Linked DNA regions of Homo sapiens: all the other regions are linked to region 3. The links are contacts of gene promoters, found by promoter capture Hi-C in human tissues and cell types (Jung and others, 2019). All regions are on one chromosome and are shown on one strand. Each heading gives the region's core, a stretch centred on a gene start or on the middle of the fragment in contact. The rest is flanking DNA. Distances are from core to core; before and after follow the strand shown.

What was found. The method cuts DNA at HindIII sites, captures the fragments that hold promoters and counts their contacts. A contact is called where the count stands out against the background at its distance.
Region 1: a contact is called between a fragment that was not itself captured here and the fragment with the promoter of RNF4 in region 3, in 2 of the 25 tissues and cell types used here (dorsolateral prefrontal cortex and spleen).
Region 2: a contact is called between a fragment that was not itself captured here and the fragment with the promoter of RNF4 in region 3, in 2 of the 25 tissues and cell types used here (IMR-90 fibroblasts and dorsolateral prefrontal cortex).
Region 4: a fragment that was not itself captured here is called in contact with the fragment with the promoter of RNF4 in region 3 in 1 of the 25 tissues and cell types used here (dorsolateral prefrontal cortex).
Region 5: a fragment that was not itself captured here is called in contact with the fragment with the promoter of RNF4 in region 3 in 1 of the 25 tissues and cell types used here (dorsolateral prefrontal cortex).
Region 6: a fragment that was not itself captured here is called in contact with the fragment with the promoter of RNF4 in region 3 in 1 of the 25 tissues and cell types used here (dorsolateral prefrontal cortex).
Region 7: a contact is called between the fragment with the promoter of NOP14 here and the fragment with the promoter of RNF4 in region 3, in 2 of the 25 tissues and cell types used here (H1 embryonic stem cells and lymphoblastoid cells).

Annotation. Positions count from the first base shown.
Region 1 is chr4:2,978,122-2,980,917 of GRCh38, forward strand. All of the region lies in intron 1 of GRK4 (G protein-coupled receptor kinase 4), which reads left to right. Among named protein-coding and RNA genes, the nearest start is that of GRK4, 16 kb to the left of the region's middle. The HindIII fragment of the contact is 3,818 bases long and covers 1-2,796 here.
Region 2 is chr4:1,996,156-1,999,300 of GRCh38, forward strand. All of the region lies in intron 1 of NELFA (negative elongation factor complex member A), which reads right to left. Among named protein-coding and RNA genes, the nearest start is that of NELFA, 11 kb to the right of the region's middle. RefSeq lists an enhancer at 1,865-2,364. The HindIII fragment of the contact is 4,892 bases long and covers 1-3,145 here.
Region 3 is chr4:2,467,660-2,470,409 of GRCh38, forward strand. RNF4 (ring finger protein 4) reads left to right here and starts at 1,447. Exons shown (of 8, transcript NM_002938.5): 1 at 1,447-1,599. LOC107986250 (a long non-coding RNA gene) reads right to left here and starts at 1,292. Exons shown (of 2, transcript XR_001741551.3): 1 at 741-1,292. RefSeq lists a silencer at 990-1,159 and enhancers at 1,310-1,669, 1,353-1,925, 1,970-2,089. The HindIII fragment of the contact is 20,287 bases long and covers 1-2,750 here.
Region 4 is chr4:2,922,373-2,925,552 of GRCh38, forward strand. All of the region lies in intron 14 of ADD1 (adducin 1), which reads left to right. Among named protein-coding and RNA genes, the nearest start is that of SLC75A1, 11 kb to the right of the region's middle. RefSeq lists enhancers at 1-569, 570-1,465, 1,466-2,361. The HindIII fragment of the contact is 7,050 bases long and covers 1-3,180 here.
Region 5 is chr4:2,016,337-2,019,098 of GRCh38, forward strand. LOC124900839 reads right to left here. Exons shown (of 4, transcript XM_047416543.1): 3 at 1,334-1,406. Among named protein-coding and RNA genes, the nearest start is that of NELFA, 8.7 kb to the left of the region's middle. The HindIII fragment of the contact is 5,535 bases long and covers 1-2,762 here.
Region 6 is chr4:2,944,493-2,947,608 of GRCh38, forward strand. It overlaps NOP14 (NOP14 nucleolar protein), which reads right to left. Exons shown (of 18, transcript NM_001291978.2): 10 at 3,034-3,116; 11 at 1,920-2,055; 12 at 636-737. It overlaps NOP14-AS1 (NOP14 antisense RNA 1), which reads left to right. Exons shown (of 4, transcript NR_015453.2): 3 at 2,381-2,628. Among named protein-coding and RNA genes, the nearest start is that of NOP14-AS1, 11 kb to the left of the region's middle. RefSeq lists an enhancer at 2,143-3,116. The HindIII fragment of the contact is 9,701 bases long and covers 1-3,116 here.
Region 7 is chr4:2,961,853-2,964,671 of GRCh38, forward strand. NOP14 (NOP14 nucleolar protein) reads right to left here and starts at 1,554. Exons shown (of 18, transcript NM_001291978.2): 1 at 1,273-1,554. The coding sequence starts at 1,467. It overlaps GRK4 (G protein-coupled receptor kinase 4), which reads left to right and starts at 1,719. Exons shown (of 16, transcript NM_182982.3): 1 at 1,719-2,270. The coding sequence starts at 2,219. RefSeq lists enhancers at 112-181, 1,212-1,745, 1,746-2,279 and silencers at 1,742-2,171, 2,342-2,391. The HindIII fragment of the contact is 12,457 bases long and covers 1-2,819 here.

The DNA.
Region 1 (2,796 bases), core at 89-2,588, 510 kb after region 3:
TCCTAAAAGTCAGTTGCTGTATTAATCTATCCTAAAGATCCATATTGAGTGGGAAGAAAAAGGGAAAACAACTTTCATCTTTAAAATTACTTTATGTAGAAGGTTCTTGGTTATCTCATAGACTGTGGCTTCACACATTAAGCTAATTGATAATATGCTAAGTTTTTAAGAATCTTTTAAAAACTTGGTCTGATAGGATTCTGTAATTGAGCTAATCGATTCTATTGTCAATCTAAAAAAAGATATCAGAGAAAAATATCTCTGAATTTAATGAATGAATTAGGGAGTAAGCAAAGAGGATTATAATTTGGGATGCACAGCCATGGCGAGCCACAGGTGCACCCGAAAAGGGGAAAGGAAGAGGAAGCTTTTATTTGGCAGACAGGGAGAGGTTCACATAAGCTGCTTGGAAACAGAGTTCACTGGTTCCAGAGGCTCAAAATCGTAGTTGGCATCAGTTCTGTGGTGGAGATGCCACTAGGGGGCAGGTGTTCTTTCAAGAGCATCTTATCTCAATTGCTGCCGTCCTAAAAAAAGTCCAGGCCAGGCAAGGTGGCTCATGCTTGTAATCCCAGTTGTTTGAGAGGCTGAGGCAGGAGGGTCGATTGGGCCCAGGGGTCTGAGACTAGCTTGGGCAACATGGCAAGATCTCTTCTCTACAAAAGCTTTTTAAAAAAATAGCCATGTGTGGCCAGGCACAGTGGCTCATGCCTGTAATCCCAGCACTTTGGGAGGCCGAGGTGGGCGGATCTCCTGAGTTCAGGAGTTCGAGACCAGCCTGGCCCACATGCTGAAACCCCGTCTCTTACTGAAAATACACAAATTAGGCTGGGCACGGTGACTCACGCCTGTGATCCCAGCACTTTGGGAGGCCAAGGCAGGCGGATCATGAGGTCAGGAGATCGAGACCATCCTGGTTAACGTGGTGAAACACCGTCTGTAAATACAAAAAAATTAGCCAGGCATGGTGATGGGCGCCTATAGTCCCACCTACTTGGGAGGCTGAGGCAGGAGAATGGTGTGAACCCAGGAGGTGGAGCTTGCAGTGAGCCGAGATCGCGCCATTGCACTCCAGCCTGGGCAACAGAACGAGACTCCGTCTCAAAAAAAAAAACAAAAAAAAACCCCACAAATTACCTGGGTGTGGTGGCAGGCGCCTGCAATCCCAGCTATTCTGGAGGCTAAAGTGGGAGAATCACCTGAACCCAGGAGGTGGAGGTTGCAATCATCTGAGATGGTGCCACTGCACTCCAACCTGAGTGACAGAGGGAGACTCTGTCTCAAAAAAAAAAAAAAAAAAAAAAAGAGTGGCCAGGCACGGTGGCTCACGCCTGTAATCCCAGCACTTTGGGGAGGCCGAGGCGGGCGGATCACCTGAGGTCAGGAGTTCGAGACCAGCCTGACCAACATGGAGAAACCCTGTCTCTACTAAAGATACAAAATTAGCCGGGCGTGGTGGCACATGCCTGTAATCCCAGCTACTCAGGAGGCTGAGCCAGGAGAATTGCTTGAACCCAGTAGGCGGAGGTTGTGGTGAGCCAAGATCACACCATTGCACTCCAGCCTGGGCAACAAGAGTGAAACTCCGTCCCCCTACCCCCCCAAAAAAAATCCATGTGTGGTGGTGCATGCTTGTGGTCCCAGCTGCTGAGGAGGCTGAGGTAGCTGGATCTCTTGAGTCCAGGAAGTCAAGGCTGCAGTGAGACTTGCATTCTGCATTCTAGCCTGGGTGACAGAGCAAGACCCTATCTCAAAAAAGAAAAAAAATGGTCCAGTGTACCTGGTCTCAGAAATACCTGCATATGTGCCAAATGTAGGTTGTGAAAAGCATGAAATGCATGAAGGATGTGAAAGAATTTCTTGTGGGGTTATTTTAGACACTCCTCCTAATGGTTCTTATCTCAGACATGTAAGCAAGAACCCTTCTTTGTGCCTTCCCAGCTCCAAGTTTCTTTGGGTCTGACAAGAGTGCTTTCATCCTGTTAGGACCAGCTGCCTGACCCTCCACAGGGTACCCAGAGCCTGGACAGTGCCTGGCACACTGGACATGGACAGCAGATGTCTTCTCAATAAATAATTTGTTAGCCAGGATTCACAGTATGGAAGGATGACTGGGGCTGCCATGGCCACCCAGCCTCCCTGGAGCCTTCACTGCCTGGAGCTGGCTGGGAGTGGCAGCAGCCAGGATGAAGAGGAAAGCCTAGCACCTTGACTTGTTTCCCTCATCATCCAAGATGGGAACCCGGGAACCAGTCTTCAGTGGGAATCTTCTGTCGATGTAGGAAACATACCCTAAAGGGGAAGGGAAGGAACACTGAACCCCACTCATGGGCCTGGTACCTTTCTATACAAGTTATCCTATTTAATCTCCACAACAAGCCTACTAGATGCTGAGATCTCAATGTGCAAATACCCCAGAACAGCACCTAGATGAGGCACAGGGACTCACTGGAAGCCTTGTCTTCCTTGGGCCCATCTGTGAGGAGCAGAACAGCTCACCTCTTGCCTGACAGGCTAGTCCTGGGTAATGCATCCAGCCTACCTCTTGTTGCCACCCTACCCCACCGTCAGTGCCACATACCCGTGAACACAAACCCACTGGGGCTGAGCGGCTGTGCCACTGTCACAGGATCCTTAGGGTGTCACTTCACCAGCTGGAGACTTCTGTGGCCAGTGGCGGCTTTACCTGAGTTTTGCTTGGGCCCACTGGGCTCCTTCCACCCACTTGGCCTGGCAGGCTGTGCTTGTCTTTCACTACTGGTCCAGATCCCATGCCTGCCAAGGGCAAGCCAGGTG
Region 2 (3,145 bases), core at 143-2,642, 470 kb before region 3:
TAAATTTCAAACGACTAAAATAAACCATATTCTCTGACAAGAGCTCAATACAGCTAGAAATTAATAATAAAAACAAAACTATCTTCCCCTCCAATGTAGGGAAATTATGAAACATTTCTAAATTACACAGGGATCAGTGAAGAACTTACTGAAATTAAAAAATAGTGTGACGATACAGTTCTGTGACTATCAAAACTTGTGGGATGCGGCTTACACTGTAATTAGAAGAGAATTTATGGACATACGCACATACACACACGAAAAGAAGCCTGAGATTGGCATCCATCTTTAAAACTTAGAAAAAGAGCAACAAAGTAAGTACAAAGACAGGAGAAAGAAAATTAGTGAAACAGAAATCCAAGTTCAACAAAGCCAGAAGCTGGTAGTTTGAAAATTCTTATAAAATCAACAAACATCTGGTGAGATGGATCAAGGGGGAAAAAATAAGAAATAATCACTATACATGCTTCTGACATTTAAAAAGAAGATGTTTGAGCTGGTCATATTGGCTCATGCCTGTAATCCCAGCAATTTGGTCAACCAAGGCATGTGGATCACTTGAGGTCAGGAGCTTGAGACCAGACTGGCCAACGTGGCAAAAACCTGTCTCTACTAAAAATACAAAAATTAGCCGGGAATGGTGGCACACGCCTGTGATCCCAGCTACTCAGAAGGCTGAGGCACGATAATCACTTGAGTCTGGAAGGTGGAGGTTGCAGTGAGCCAAGATTGCACCATTGCACTCCAGCCTCGATGACAGAAGGGTATTTGAGACACTCTCTCTACAAAAAATTTAAAAAAAAAGAAAAGTAGGCAGGTATGGTGGTGCATGCCTGCAGTCTTAGCTGCTCAGGAAGGTGAGGCAGGAGATCACTTGAGCTTAGGAGTTTAAGGTTACAGTGAGTTATGATCACATCACTGCCACTCCAGCCTGAGTGACAGTGACACTATGCATTAAAACAAACAAAAAAAACAAAACCCATAAAAACAAAAATCAATACTGAAAAATCCTCCCACAAAGTAAATTTCAGGTCCAGAAGGCTTCATTACCAAGTTCTACCAAATATTTAGGAAGAAATCACTCCATTAGTAAACAAACTTTCCAAAGAAAAAGAAAAGACCAGATACATTACAAATCCTTTTTTAAGGGTAGCATAACCCCAATACCAAAATCCAACAAAGACAGTCTGGGTAAGTAAAACTACAGGTCAATCTCACCCAAGAACAAAGATATAGTACAAAATTCCTATACAAAACATCAGGATGATATAATCTAACAACATAAAATGACCAATTTAGGTTTACCGCAGGAATGCAAGGTTGGTTTATAATTAAAGCTATTTTGTTAATGTGGTGAATTACATGTCAATAGATATTTAAGCATTTGATAAAATTTAAAGTTCCTTTGTGCTCACACCCACTAGGATCGCTATATCAAAAAGATAACAAATGTTGGCAAGGATGTGAGAGACTGAACACTCGAAAATCACTATGGAGAAAGTAAGATGGTGTAGCCACTATGGAAAATAGTTTGGCAATTTCTCAAAATGTTAAATATAGAATAACCTGGGCAGCCCAGACAAGTGGTTTCCCCCCACTGAAGCACACTCCCTCCATCATGGGACAAAGTGCTTCATTAAATGGGTCCTGCTCCCTATGTCACCCAACTAGGTGAGACCCTCCAACAGGGGTTGTCAGACACCCTATACAGCAGTGACCCTACTGGCATCAGGTTGGTGCCCCTCGAGATCAGAGGTCCCAGAAGAAGGAGCAGGCACCCATCTTTGCTGTTCTGCAGCCTCCTTTAGTGACACCTCCAGGCATGGGAGTGAATCAGATGAATATGGCCTGAAGTGAACCCCCAGCAAACTGCAGCAGCCCTACAGAAGAGGGACATGACTACGGCAAGGAAAACAAACGAGCAGAAAACGACAACAGCATCAACAACAACAACAACAACCACAACAAAAGCCCCCATCCAAGGGTCAGCAGCCTCAAAGACTGAAACTAGACAAACTCACGAAGATGAGAAAGAATCAACGAAAAAATGCTGAAAACCCCAAAGGCCAGAGTGCCTCTTCTCCTCCAAATGATCACAATGTCTCTCCAAAAAGGGCGCAGAACTAGACGGAGGATTGGATGGACGAGCTGACAGAAGTAGGCTTCAGAAGATGGGTAATAAAAAAAAAAACAATGATGAACTAAAGGAGCATGTTCTATCCCAATGCAAAGAAGCTAAGAACCTTGATAAAAGGTCAGAGGAATTGCTAACTAGAATAACCGGTTTAGAGAGGAACATAAATGACCTGATGAAGCTGAAAAACACAGCACCAGAACCTCATGAGTCATCCGCAAGTATTAACAGCCGAATCCACAAAGCGGAACAAAGGATATCAGAGTTTGAACACCACCTTACTGAAATAAGACATGCAGACAACAATAGAGAGAAAAGAATGAAAAGGAACGAACAAAGCCTCCAAAAAACACGGGATTTCATAAAAAGACCAAACCTACTACTGACTGGAGTACCAGAAGGAGACGGGGAGAATGGAAACAAGCTGGAAAACACACTTAAGGATATTATCCAGAACTTCCTCAACCTAGAGACAGGCCAACATGCAAATTTGGGAAATACAGAGAACCCCACTAAGACACTCCATGAGAAGATCAACCCCAAGACACATAATCATCAAATTCTCCAAGGTCGAAATGAAGGAAAAACTGTTCAGAGCAGCCAGAGAGAAAGGCCAGGTCACCTACAAAGGGAAGCCCATCAGACTAACTAATGGCAGACCTCTGCAGAAACTCTACAAGCCAGAAGAGTTTGGGGGCCAATATTCAACATTCTTAAAGAAAAGAATTTTCAACCCAGAATTTAATATCCAGCCAAACTAAGCTTCATAAGTGAAGGAGAAATAAAATCTTTTTCAGACAAGCAAATGCTGAGGGATTTTGTTACCACCAGCCCCGCCCCGGAAGAACTCTGGAAAGAAGCACTAAATATGGAAAGAAAAACCAGTACGAGCCACTGAAAAAACACACCAAAATATAGAGACCAATGACATTACAAAGAAACTGCATCTAGTGTGCAAAATAACCAGATACCATCATGATTACAGGACCGAATTCACACATAACAATATTA
Region 3 (2,750 bases), core at 197-2,696:
AGAGCGAGACTCCGTCTCAAAACAAACAAACAAACAAACAAAAAACACAAATACTTAGATATTTTACATGAGAATTACATTTATCTATCAGATACTCTACCATGCCAGATTTCCTTACAATTACGAAAAATAGCAAACACATATTGTTTGTAAATGCAACACAAAAACGTTAATGCTCTGGTTTCTATCTGCCTTGTCATTCCGTTATTTGACTCCATTTTCGAGGTTAGAAACTCACTGTAAGGTGGCCGGGCGAGGTGGCTCACACCAGTAATCCCAGCACTTTTGGAGGCCAAGGAGGGTGGATCACCTGAGGTCAGGAGCTCGAGACCAGCCTGGCCAACATGATGGAACTCCATCTCTACTAAAAATACAAAGAAAATTAGCCGGGCGTGGTGGCAGGCGCCTGTAATCCCAGCTATTCGGGAGGCTGAGGCAGGAGAATCACGTGAACCCAGGAGGTTAGAGCTTGCAGTGAGCCGAGATCGCGCCACTAAAACAAACAAACTCACTGTAAGGAAACAATGTAACCCAAGGCATTTGGGGTGACCTTCACGTTGCCTGAGGGTGCCGAGGGACCAGAGATGCTGGCCATGGACTAAGGTCTGGGTATTCTCAGGCAGCAGGGACAAGGTGGGCTTTTTTCCTGGTTGCTAAACCCACGTCAAAGTCGAGCTCAGGGACTGGAGCTCAAGAAACCCACCGCCCATTCTCCAGTCCGACCGGGGACCTGCATGCACCTCTGCCGTGCTGCCCTGAGTCCTCCAATCCTCCACACTCTTCCTCTGTTATGTACACGTCTCCACCCAGGCCTGCAAAAGTCCCAGCTTCCTCGCAGGGGCAGGGACCCGCACGCCGGCCCAGGGCTTGGCACGCGGGGATGCTGAAACAGGGCCAGGCCTGGTTTCCAGCCGATCGTCAGAGTCCCAAGGCCCAGCAACCTTCCTCACAAAGGCCTCGTTAAGAGGCGAGGAAACAAGAGCCGGGAGAGGGGCGCGGAACGGCGGGCGGGACGAACGACCAGCTCCGCGCCTCCGGCCAGCTGCGTCGAGCCAGGGGCACCGCGGCTGTTGTGCGGCTGGAAATCTAGGAATGGGAAGGTTCGGGGCCTGCTCGGCTCCGGAGGCAGCTGGCGGGTCGTCCCTGGCGGCGTTGGAGCGGTCAGTGGCAGCCGGGCACGGGCGACCGGGTCGCCCGGGTCGCCCTCAGACCGTGACTCCCGAAAAACCTTGCGGGCGGGGCGCGCCCGCGCCGTCTCTTGCCGGAAGGTGCGAGTTAGTGCGCTCGATTGTGGGCGGGGGCGGAAAGAGGCGCGTTTTAAAGTGGTAACAGATGGTTTTCTTATCCAATAGGATTAAAAAATTTGTCCTTACCCGGCCGACCGCGGAAGTAGAGTAGGCGGGCGGCCAATGGGGACATGATGGGGGGCGGAGCCGAGGCCTCCGAAGCGGAAGTGGGTTGCTGTTGAGGCGGCGGCATCTTTCTCGAGGAGCTCTCCTGGGCGGCTGAAGAAGGAGCTTCTTCTCCGGAGTGCGCCGGCGGTGGCGCCTGCGGACCTAACTAGCTCCAGGTTAGGCCGAGCTTTGCGGGAAAGCAGCGGTAAGTCAGGGCCTTGCAGATGCGAGGTTTAGGCAGCTTCGCGGCCTACAGAGGCCTCGGCCCGCGCCTCTTGGGGGAGCCGCGCTGCGCGGCTTGACCCAGCCGAGGCTTTGCAGCCCGGGACCTCGAGCCAGCTCTGGTCGCTCGCACTGCCGTCCGCGCGGGCGCACCGAGCCCGGCTTGGCGCGGGCAACAGAAGTTAGGAGGTCTGCGTCTGGGTCTCGGCTCACCCTGGGGGGCCGCGGCCATGGGGCTTAGTTCCTAGCCTAGGAAGGGAAACTGAGACTCTGGGAGGGGCAGGAACGCCCCCAAGGTCACTTGGAAAGTCGGGCAGGATGTGCTGTTAGGGGGAAGACCCGGGCAGGGTTTTTGTTCCCCGCTGACGACGCCTCCTTTGTGTGTTCGCGCCGCCGCCCCGCCATCGTGGGGCCTGCGAGTTTGCCGGGGTGCGTGGGCCGCGTGGCGGGGCCTTTTGTAGGTCGGGAGGATCTGAGTACGGGTGCGGGCCTGACCGTGGGGGCGCCGAGGTCGCAGTCTAAAACTTAGTAGGGCCTCGATTTCCGGGCGCGCTTCCGGGCCCCGGCTGGTGGTTGGTGGAACGTGCGACTGTGAGGCTTGCGGCCCAGCCCTGCACCGCTCGGGCCCTTCACCGCTCTGGCGCGCCTATAGACAGGTGTATGAAGATTCTCACGACCCGAAACAGAGTTGCTAGTAAACACCGCTTTTCCGCCTTTGATCCATCGAGGGAAGAGGGAAAAGGATAGAGCTTGGGCAAGCCGTTTTGGTAGGGATTTCAGCTTTTGTCTTTCACTTGTCAGTTCCCATAGACGTTCACAAACTTAATAATCTTCGTTCTGTTTCTGCACCAAGTTCTTGAGCCAGACGTAGGGTCTCAGCTCTGGAGCCTGGCTTAGACTGTCCAACTGACTGGGGAGACTGAGGTCCAGAAAAGTGAAGTGGTCTGCCCAAGGTCACATAGCCAGCTATTTGGCAGCAGATGAGGTTAAGTCCTACCTGCAAGATTTGGGTTTTGAATTCATTGACCAGGAGTTTTGGGACCACTGTCAATAAAAGAGACATTGAAGGGAATCTTTTGTTACTTTCTTGGTGATTTGCTTTTTAATGGACAAGGACATATTGGGTTCAGTTTT
Region 4 (3,180 bases), core at 53-2,552, 450 kb after region 3:
TTTCCTTCTAACAGACAGGCTCCTCTGCTGCAGGTCTGTTGGAGTTTGCTGGAGGTCGACTCCAGGCCCTGTTTGCCTGGGTATCACCAGCAGAGGCTGCAGAACAGCAAAGATCGCTGCCTGTTCCTTCCTCTGGAAGTTTCGTCCCAGAGGGGCACCTGCCAGATGCCAGCTGGAGCTCTCCTATATGAGGTGTCTGTTGACCCCTGCCGGGAGGTGTCTCCCAGTCAGGAGGCACAGGGGTCAGGGACCCACTTGAGTTGGCTGTCTGTCCCTCAGCAGAGCTTGAGTGCTGTGCTGGGAGATCCACCGCTCTCTTCAGAGCCAGCAGGTAGTAACTTCAGTCTGCTGAAGTTGTGCCCACAGCCAACCCTTCCCCCAGGTGCTCTGTCCCAGGGAGATGGGACTTTTATCTATAAGCCCCTGACTGGGGCTGCTGCCTTTCTTTCAGAGATGCCCCGCCCAGGGAGGAGGAATCTAGAGAGGCAGTCTGGCTACAGTGGCTTTGCATAGCTGCGGTGGGCTCTGCCCAGTGTGAACTTCCTGGCAGCTTTGTTTACACTGTGAGGGGAAAATGGCCTACTCAAGCCTCAGTAATGGTGGATGCCCCTCCCCCCACCAAGCTCCAGCATCCCAGGTCGACTTCAGACTGCTGTGCTGGCAGCAAGAATTTCAAGCCAGTGGATCTTAGCTTGCTGGGCTCCATGGGGGTGGGATCTGCTGAGCAAGACCACTTGGCTCCCTGGCTTCAGCCCCCTTTCCAGGGGTGTGAAGGGTTCTGTCTTGCTGGCATTCCAGGCGCCACTGGGGTATCAGAAAAAACTCCTGCAGCTAGCTCAGTGTCTGCCGAAACGGCTGCCCAGTTTTGTGCTTGAAACCCAGGGTCCTGGTGTCATGGGCAGCCAAGGGAATTTCCTGGTCTGTGGATTGCGAAGACCGTGGGAAAAGCGTAGTATTTGAGCTGGAATGCACTGTTTCTCAAGCCACAGTCCCTCATGGCTTCCCTTGGCTAGATGAGGGAGTTCCCCGACTCCTTGCACTTCCTGGGTGAGGCAACACCCCACCCTGCTTTGGCTCGCCCTCCGTGGGCTGCACCCACTGTCTAACCAGTCCCAGGGAGATGAGCCAGGTACCTCAGTTGGAAATGCAGAAATCATCCACCTTCTGCGTTGATCTCACTGGGAGCTGCAGATCGGAGCTGTTCCTATTCGGCCATGTTGCCTGTCACCCTGACATTTGTCTCTTTACGAACACAGTATTTCTGTCTGTTGAAGCTTCACCGGGGAGAGACCTCCTTTACTCAGTTTGATTCATTAACACTCAGCATTGCTGAGCAGTCATTGTGCCGGGCACATGCCCAGTGCTATTGTGCGTACATCTCATCTCATTCTCAAAGTAACCCTGAGAGATAGGTCATTTTCCCCCGGCTGGAGCAGAGGAATAGGGAGCTCAGACAGGGCGGCTCGCGAGAACGAGGTTGTGCGTGGCCGAGCCCTGATTTGGACAGAAGCGCACTGCCTTCCTCACTGAGTCTTTGGTCACAGCAGTCAGCCCCGGCCTCTGTGCAGGGGGACGCTCTGAACGTCCTTACTGTGCTTGTGTGTAGGGCTTGGGGTTTCTGACAGAAATTCTCTTTCTCCATAAACCTTGAGGGTTTCCTGTGCAGGTGTGGTCACAGGCCGGAGGGTGAAAATGCTGACTGCCCTGGCATGTGCCCAGGTCCCATCAGGAATGGCTGGTGCAGCCTGTACTTCTCTTGGTAGCCCGCTGACAAAGGCGGTCTTGTTTTTGTCAAAGATGGGGCAGTCTTAAAATGAATACAAATAAGCGGCTCAAGTTTGAGACCCTCACGGAGCAGGTGGTTTCAAATGTCAGGCTTTGAAAAGGAAATGTTGAGAACTAATGAGAGAAGCAGGTCTCCAAAGCCTATTCCTTGAGGGCTTTTGGGCATCAGCTGCTTTTCCCCCAAGCTCCCTGCTGCCAGCTCTCTTGTCCACTAGGCTCTGAGCAGCCTTGGTGCTGGCACCAAGAAGAACCAGGGGCACAGGGACCCCTGCCAGGAGGCTCCCGCCAGCATCCTCAGGGCCGTAAGCTCCAACTCAGGTTTTTACTGAAACCTCAGTGTGCTTCTCAGTCCTCCGGGGTCAGCCTTGCTGGAGCCACCTTGTTGTGTGGGACTGACTGTTGCTCTCCTGGGCCGTCGTCATCCTGGGAGCTAGGCACTCCTCCTAAGAGGACCTCTTCACCGGTTTTTGTCTCGTTCTAGACCAGCCACTGCATTACGTAGTTGTGACTGAAATTTGAGTTGCTGAATTGTTTTTCAGTGTCACACCGCTATTTACTATTCAGGCCGCCACACACACCAGGCCCTGCTGCTGGTTGTCTCCCTCCAGTGAAGCTTTGTCTGAGCCATTGCTGTAATTACCTGCCTTAGAGCGAGAACTGGAGGTAGTCAGCTTGAGCTGTGGGTCATGTGGCCTCCTCCTAGTTTCTGTGCACATGTACACAGACATGTGTCTGCCCTTTGGAGTCTCCTGGGATCTGAGTAACCTGGATTGTTTTTAAAAACAAGTCAAACAAGATATGTGGAGTTTCCCCCCGATGTGTGAGGCTCCTTCAGCAGGGCTGTGATGGCAGCTGAGTGGATGGGGACAGGCTCTGGCCGTGCTCTGTGATCACAGAGCTGTCAGCAGGAGAACCCACAGGAGGTCTGATCTGGCCCTTGGCATGGGCTGAGGGGAGAATGTGCCACAGGTAAAATGCAGGCTGGCTGCCAGAGGTCAGCACCTTTTCCCGGTTGAGGCTGTATGCTCACTCAGCTAGGTGGTATGGCGGCCTTTTTATGGACACCTGGCTTCTGGAAGGTAGCTGCCAACGTGGTACTTGGGGAGGCGAGCCAGCTGTTAGGGTGGGAGCAGAGGCCCTGGGAGCTCAGAAGGATGATGATAGCTGCTGGTTCAAAATACGGACCTGCTGATCCTAAGCTATTAATCTTAAACTTCTGAAATAAAGACAGAGATGGAAGGAGTTAGAATAGTGCTGGTCCATATTTTCCCCGAAATGAGAAGTAGACTTGGAATCCTTTTCTATATCCAGGATCCTAGTTCCTGCATTTTTTCCTCTGGTTCTTATTAGCATTTTTCACTTTAAAAAGTAAAAATACGTATTACAGTTGCCAAG
Region 5 (2,762 bases), core at 164-2,663, 450 kb before region 3:
TTTTAGGACTCCCTCCTGACTTCCTGGAAATTGTGTGGGTCCAGGCTCTGTTTTCTGGTTTGTAAATCCAGAAAGACAGTCAGTTTTCTGTTAGGGTTATCTGCTTGCACCATGCCGGGGCTCCCTAGCTGTCCTCAGGCTTAAGCTTTGAAAATGGCCTTAAAACTCACCAGGATCAGTCAGCTGTGGTGGCTCATGCCTGTGATCCCAACACTTTGGAAGGCCGAGGCAGGTGGATCACCTGAGGTCAGGAGTTCAAAACCAGCCTGGCCAACATGGCAAAACCCCATCTCTACTAAAAATACAAAAATTAGCCGGGCACAGTGGTGGGCACCTGTAATCCCAGCTACTCAGGAGGCTGAGGCAGGAGCATTGCTTGAATCCGGGAGGCAGAGGTCGCAGTGAGCTGAGATCACACCATTGCACTCCAGCCTGGGCAACAGAGCAAGACTTTGTCTCAAACAAACAAACAAATTCACCAGGCTGGTCCTTTCCTCCAAGTTTTTACTTCCCTCCAAAATCCGCTTGCTTTGGTTTATGCTCCAAAGCCTTTAATCAGTGGGAGGGTTGGCCTGTTAGCTATCCCGCCATACTTTTCACTGTTACATGAGTCCATTAAGTGATATGTTTGCTTATTTTTATTCTTATTTTTTTGAGACGGATTCTCACTCTGTCGCCCAGGCTGGAGTGCAGTAGTGTGATCTTGGCTCACTGCAAGCTCCGCCTCCCGGGTTCTGGCCGTTCTCCTGCCTCAGCCTCCTGAGTATCTGGGACTACAAGTCGCCCGCCACCACGCCCGGCTAATTTTTTGTATTTTTATTAGAGATGGGGTTTCACCGTGTTAGCCAGCATGGTCTCGATCTCCTCACCTCGTGATCCGCCCGCCTCAGCCTCCCAAAGTGCTGGGATTACAGGTGTGAGCCACCATGCCCGGCCATGTTTGCTTATTTTTTAAGGTGCCCTAGATCAAATTAAAGAAGTTCCCTTCTATTCCTAATTTGCTACAGGTTTTTAAAAATCATGACCAACATTTAATTTTATCAAATGTTCTTATAAAATGTTTTGTTGTGCATACTGAGATGATTGTATGATTTTTTCACCTTTATTTTGTAAATGTGATGAATTACATTGATTGCCTTTCAAATTACATAAACCTTACTTTCCTAGAATAAGCCCAACTTGGACTATGTTATTCTTTTTTACACGTTGCTAGATTTCGCTTGTTAGTATTTTATCTAGACTACTAATGCTTTGTTCATGAGGAGAGCCTTTACAGTGTTGGGTTAAGTTTATGCAGCCTCTTGCAGTGAGTGGATCCCTCTTCTCACCTTACCTGGGAGAAGCCCTCTAGGTCATCACCACACCAGCAGCCAGTCCTAATCGGCTGCTACGACGGCTCCTGGAAGCTGGAGAAAAAAATGATGACAGAGAAAATGAGGTGGAAGGCTGGGCACAGTGGCTCATGCCTGTAATCCCAGCACTTTGGGAGGCCGAGGCAGGTGGATCATGAGGTCAAGAGATCAAGACCATCCTGGCCAACATGGTGAAACCCTGTCTCTACTAAAAATACAAAAATTAACTGGGCGTGGTGGCTCATGCCTGTAATCCCAGCTACACAGGAGGCTGAGGCAGGAGAATCGCTTGAACCTGGGAGGTGGAGGTTGCCGTGAGCTGAGATCGTGCCATTGCACTCCAGCCTGGGCACCAAGCGTGAGACTCCGTCTCAAAAAAAAAAAAAAAAAAAGAAAGAAAGAAAATGAAAAAAAAAAAGAGATGGAAAAGACAGAGGGGCCTTGGCAGAATATTGAGGACGGGATGAGAATTGAGACCACCTGTGTCCACTTAACTCTTGGGATCAAGAGCTGAGATCACCTGTGTCAACCTGATTTAATGATTATTTCCAGAAAATTCTTTCCAGGAAGATAAAACTAAATCAGTCAATCACTGTTTGCTTCAGGAAAATCTTGCAGAACAATGTATCCTGGCACATAGTTTACCAATCTGGGAACCAGCTCACTCATCAGAACCTTCATCTGGCTGTGTTTCTCTGTCCTGCACTGTTGGGCCATAAGCTCTGTCCTATCCCAATGAGTCCTTGCACTGAAAGACAGACCATCAACCATCTGAGCCCAGATTCTAAAATCCTATGAGGCCAGGCGCACTTTGGGAGGCTGAGGTGGGAGGATTGCGTGAGCCCAGGAGTTAGAGACCAGCCTTGGCAACACAGCAAGACTCTGTCTCTACAAAACACTAAAAAATTAGCCGGGTGTGGTGGAGCACACCTGTAGTCCCAGCTACTTGGGAGGTTGATGGGGGAGGATTGCTTGAGCCCAGGAGGTTGAGGCTGCAGTGAGCTGTGGTTGCACCACTGCAATCTAGCCCGGGCAACAGAGCAAGACCCTGTCTCTAAAAATAAACAAGTTTTCTGGGAGTCACTGTTGAGTTGTTGGCAGTGAATGGTCCTAAATGTTCCCATGGGATTCGGCTGAGACGGCCTCCCCAGGATGGCCTGAGACCTGCGACTGGAACCAGCACTCTCCCCGTGACCCTCTGGTTTTCTTTTGTGAAAGCTCCTTGTGTTCCAGGATTGAGAAAGCCTTCTTACGTGTGCTTTGATTATCTGATGAGATGAAGATTTTGATCCTTGTGGAAACTACTTTGCTCCTAACAACAATTCTGTGTGTCCGTCTGTCCTTGTCACCTTCTGTTGTGAAGAGCTCCTTGGGAAGAGGATGAACTAACACAGGTCTGAATGTCCCTGT
Region 6 (3,116 bases), core at 152-2,651, 480 kb after region 3:
ACCTCCCGGGTTCAAGTGATTTTCCTGCCTCAGTCTCCCGAGTAGCTGGGATTACAGGCATGTGGCACCACACCCAGCTAATTTTTGTATTTTTAGTAGAGACGGGGTTTCGCCATGTTGGCCACACTGGTCTTGAACTCCCGACCTCAGGTGATCCGCCCGCCTCAGCCTCCGAAAGTGCTGGGATTACAGGCGTGAGCCACCGCGCCTGGCCAGAGCTATACTGATTATAAAGTTCCTTCCACCCATACAGAGCGTACGATTACTGCACTAAGCATGTACCAATCACATGCCTAATAAAGAAAAAGGAACAGCTTGAACTTTTTAAGCCAAAAAGGGAACAAAAGCCCTTATCATCACACTGGATAACTTCACCACTAACTTGAAAGGTTGTTTTCTGGGGTAGCACCATCTGTAACCTTGAGGTGCCAAACCAGGCCCTCCCACTCCCACCCACATCTGGGGCTGCTCGAGCCGGGGCTCTTTTAGATGGGCCCTCTTTGGCCTAACCGCAGTGCTCGGTCTCTGCAGCCCTTAAACAGCCACACTCATGTTCCACAAGGCCCCGAGGGGCTGTGGCTCCGGCCACCCGTGGTGCAGCAGGCCGACCCCTGCCGCATGTGGAGAGAACGCACCTTGGTGAGCAGCTGACTGAGGCACACGAGGGCAGGGGTCACCACTGGGTGCCAGAAGTCGGAAGTTGGAAATAGCAGCCCAGTGATTTTCAAATAAATGAGCTGGAAAGAAAGTGTTACCACAGGTTAAAGAAGGTAAATGAAGTCCATCCATATGCCCTCCCCGCAAACACTCCGGAGCCAAGAACAGGATCTGGCGAGGAGAGGGTGCATCTCCTTGGCCCAGAGCTCTGGCCTCAGTGTCACAGAACAGGCGTCCAACCACCGTGGGTCAACCAGCTAAACGTGCAGTGAGGACACTGAGGCCCATGAAGACTTCAAAGCAGTCAACAATGGTTATAGACACGGGCTCAGATCATGTTTTGGGGAGTTGATTAAAAATCACTAACCTAAGTCCTACATTTTTAAGCTTCTGCTAACTATTGTGAATCCATTTCAACACAAACACCAGGCAACAGAATAAAGAGCGTATCTCAGCAAGTATTTCCTTAAAGTTACTAAAGCTGAAAATACAGCATGAGGCTGTTATAAAATTGTTAAAAATCTCAGCGTACAAATGTCTCCCAACCTTTGAATAACATAGAAACCGAGACCAATTTAAACCAGCCCACAGGCTTGGGCCCTTAAGGACAATACCGTGGTTCTATTTGCCTTCCAATGTTTTTGTCACTGGACCAAATACAGCACCATTCACGTGGAATCAAACCAGAATCTCCCTGCACGACCCACACGTTAGTCCATGGCTAGTGGAGGAGTGCCCTCCCCTCCCAGGCTCGCTGCCGTGCACTCTCACTCCAGATCACCCTCACTGCCGTGCACTCTCACTCCAGATCACCCTCACTGCCGTGCACTCTCACTCCAGATCACCCTCACTGCCGTGCACTCTCACTCCAGATCACCCTCACTGCCGTGCACTCTCACTCCAGATCACCCTCACTGCCGTGCACTCTCACTCCAGATCACCCTCACTGCCGTGCACTCTCACTCCAGATCACCCTCGCTGCCGTGCACTCACTCCAGATCACCCTCACTGCCGTGCACTCTCCAGATCACCCTCACTGCCGTGCACTCTCCAGATCACCCTCACTGCCGTGCACTCTCACTCCAGATCACCCTCACTGCCGTGCACTCTCACTCCAGATCACCCTCGCTGCCGTGCAGCTCACTCCACATCACCCTGGAAGCACAGGGTACAGCCAAGAGCATCGTACCCGTCGTCCACCTTCTGTGATGCCAAACAGAACTTCTGTGGCAGGGGCAGTGCCTAGACTGAACTCTGCTTACCACATCCAACCCTGGCAATGCCGCCCGGCCTTTGGTCTCAATCATTTCTTCCATCTCATGCATCGCATCTCGGAGAACAAATTTGATAGCGTCACTTGCAGATTCAGGAAACATCTGGCAAAGATGATATAAGTGCCTGTTAAGCAGAAATGTAAAGTCAGGAGAGAATGACTTTAGATAAGAAACACAGAAAAGCCCTGCAAGCCACTTTCCTATGCAGTCACCTGTTGACTGAGCAAGTAAGAACTGGATGAATCCGCTTTTTCTAACAGCATTCTTAAGAGTCTACACTCACTTCTGCCATTTCCTAAAAACTCGGCCATAACATTATGGACTGGAGGTGGTGGGAGAAACAGCTCGATTTGTGGTACAGACGTTGTTGGGGGCACCACTCTGTGTGGCAGCTGCAGCTGACAGCTCCAAGGCACTTTCCATATTAACTCATTTATTCCTCACGACAGGTACTTCTTTGATAGTGCCTCCATGCATGCAGAAGATGACGTGGAGAGCTCCGCGCGGCACAGGGCAGGAAGCTGGTGTGCACTCTCATGGATCCGAAGCCAACACACGCCTCTCAACTGAGGACTCTGCCCCTCTGGCATTCTTCCAGCCACCAGCCCTGGGGGCCAGGAGCCACTGAGTGGGTCACACAGCCTTAGAGGGCAACGAGGGCAGGAGCTCGCCCTGGCGGTCCCCATGCAGACAAGAGGTACACACTCCCTGGCATGCAAAGCCACCCAACTGGGTTTCACTGAAGGGTGAGGGGCGGGGTGTCTACCGTGCTTTCCAAATACCGCTCAGTCACCCAGAGCTTGAAACTTACAATGAGCCACCCCATCCCAGCCACAAATCTAAAGGGGTTCACTTGTTTCAAAATCAACTTGTTTGTGGTTAAAAGTCAGTCCCAGCTCTACAGTGGCTGGAGCGGCACGTGTGAGAAGCCGGCTTGCGCTGTGAGGCTCACAAGCCCTGGGTGACCACCTGCCCACTTGGCATGCTGACACCATCATTCCACCTACCTTAGTAACTCTGGAATGTATTTTTATGACTCTAAATGGGAGAAAAATTGTTCTGCTTAACCCCACATCCCAGATGACACACCATTTTTACTTACACAACCAACTTATCAATGACTGTGAGGTCTGGTGGGTCATCTGTAGCCAAATCGCCAACGTATTCCAAAAGAAAGCCAAACAG
Region 7 (2,819 bases), core at 304-2,803, 490 kb after region 3:
AAGGAGCAGCAATTCCCGTCCCCGTCCCAGGCCTTCAGCACAGGGCAGGGAGGTGGATCTGCTCAATACCAGAAGTTTGAGCAACCTGTCCTATTTGGGTTACATAGCTTGGGTGGTGAACCTGAGCTGGCCCTTTAGAGACTTTCGGAGGTAAGGCAGACCTTTTGGACAAACTGAGTTGCAAGAGGCGAAGCAAGGACAACAGCCAGACTGTGCGGGACTCGAACGACAAGCCAAGAAGGTTAAGAATAACAGTATTTAGAGAACACTTGCTGTGTGCTCTATGTGCTATCTTACTTAATTCTCACAAACCACCACGAGGGGTAGGATGTATACTATCATCTCTACTTTTGAAATGAGAAAACTGAGGCTTCAGTGGTGAAGACAAATGTGTCTCTTCTAGGGAACCACACTACCTTATTCTCCCACCCCGGCCCGGGGGTGTGTAATGAGGGACTCCTATCGAAGTCAGCTGTAAGTCTATCTTGCCTATTCATTATACAGGCTGTCGTCTTCGCGCAGTAAGGATAATATGTGTTTTGATTCAAAGACCATCCAGCTTGCACACTGTGATGAACAGAGATCAGGAGCTCATGAAGGCAAGGGCAAGTCTTATTTACCTTTATCTCCCCGAACCTAGAAGCGAGGTCAAACAGAAGCGCTCGGGGTAGCAAGAAGGCTTTGTAGATATTGAAATGTGAATGCATGCCCAGCCCTTACCAGGTGCGTGACCTTAGGAAATGCACTTGTCCTTTCTGTGCCTTAATTTTTTCACCAACCTGCTAATGTATGTTCCTCAGTGAAAATTTAAAAAAAAAAAAGTTAAAAAAACTAGGAAGCAATGAGTTTCCATAGAGTTACTTCCCAAGGAACAAGGTTACGCGCTTCGGGAGAGAGCCGATGAAACATCAAACGCAGCATCCTACACAGCCCCTATCCACCGTCCCCAAACCTGCAGAGCTCAAAGTAAACGCGGAAGGGTTAACAAGCAGCTTGGTCCAGGGCGCCGCCCGAAGTGACTGACTCGGCCTGACCCGGTTGGAGGAGTCGCCGAAATAACACGAGTGCAGGGTCTCCAAGACGGCGAGAGTTTCCAGGTCACTCCAGCTCAGAGAACAGCAGAGGCTTTCGGACTATCAAGTCAGTGCCGTGTGCCTGTCACGGCCTGTGCCGCTCAACGAGGAAACCGACGCACCGAGAAGGACGCAGCCGGCCGAGAGCAGCGTGGGGTCCAGATCCTGCCTTCCGGCTCCCCGTGCGCCCCCCGCTTACCTTCCTGAGGGCCCGTGCGCGAGACACCCCGGGCAGTCCCACGTCGTGGCGCGTCTTCCGGCCCAGGATCTGGAACTTCTGCCTGTTAACTTTCACCTCGAACGGATTGGAGTTGGCCTTCGCCGGGCCCCCTCGCGCTCCCGCCGGCGCCCCGGAGGCCTTCCTTCGCGCCCCGACCTTCTTCGCCTTCGCCATGGCGCGCGCCCCGCTGCGCCCAAGGGCCCGAGACCCGAAGAGAGACAGGCGCGCGCTACCCTAAGACACGTGCCGGGCCGCGGAACCGCTTCCTCGTCTCGCGAGAACAGCGCAGCACCTCCGACTCGCGAGAAGTAAACACCGCGCCCGCAGGCTCGGCTTACTCGCCGATAGGCTCAGCGACTACAACTCCCAGCAGGCCACGCGCCGCGGCCCGCCGTGTACTCTTGGCGCAGGGCCTTCTGGGAGCTGTAGTGCCCCGGCCGCGGCGGCGAGGGGCGCTCCCTCTTCAGCTAAGCCGTTAGCGCCGAGCCCGCCCGGGAGCGGGTCGCCGGCCGCGGCGGGCGCCCCTGCCAGTGAGCCCCTGTCCGAAGTGAGCCACGGCATTGACTCGGGGCTGCCCGGGGGCAGGGCACTGAGGAGGGAGTTGCGCGCGCGAGGCGAGGGCGATGGGGCCAAGAAGAACCGGGGCGATAGCGCGGCAGCGGTGACAGCTGGGACCCGCCGCGGTCGGGCTGCCCCCTCCCCTCGCCCCGACCGCTCCCCTGCTGGTGAGGGCCTGCGGAGGCGGCGGCGGCGGCGCCCTTGGTGGCAGTGGTGGCGGCGGAGCAGCCTCCCGGGATCGTGTCCGGAGCTCGAGGAGAGGGTGGTGCCCGGCGAGCTATGCACGGGGGCGGCGGCGTCTCCTCCTGTTCCGCCTCCTCAGTCTCCTCGGTCTCGCAGAATCCGCCGGCGGCGGCGGCGCCAGGACATGGAGCTCGAGAACATCGTGGCCAACTCGCTGCTGCTGAAAGCGCGTCAAGGTGGGTGCGCGGCAGGCGCCCCCGACCCCCCCCCCAGAGAACCCCGAATCCCGGGGAACCCTGGCCCCCCTGAAGGAACCCGACATCCCCGGAGAACCCCGATTTCCCTGGAGAGCCCCGACACCTCCCACTGGGGGAACCCAGATCTGCACGGAGCCGGAGCCGGGGTCTGTGCAGTGTGGTCAGGCTGCCCGGGCCAGGTCCCAGTCCCCATCTCCTGGCCCAGATGAGAGAAGTCTGCGCTTTGCTCTTCTTAGTCTTGCCCTGTGTCCTTGTCCTGTCCTCTCGGTGTGACCTCGGTGACAGTGTTGCTTCAGGATGCGGCAGGCAGTGTCCTGCTTGTGTTGGACAACCTGTCCCACCAAAAAAGAACGGCGTCTTTATGGTCTTAAGGGGGACAAAGAATAGCAGCCTGGGAACTACTCTGGGCGAGAACCTTCCGATAATGATTGTAGGGCAATGTTATTTTTAACATAGCTGCTTGGTTTTGAGGTTTGATCTGAGGCTCTATGGTGTGTCAAGTGTGCTTTAGCACGACGTGGTCACAGA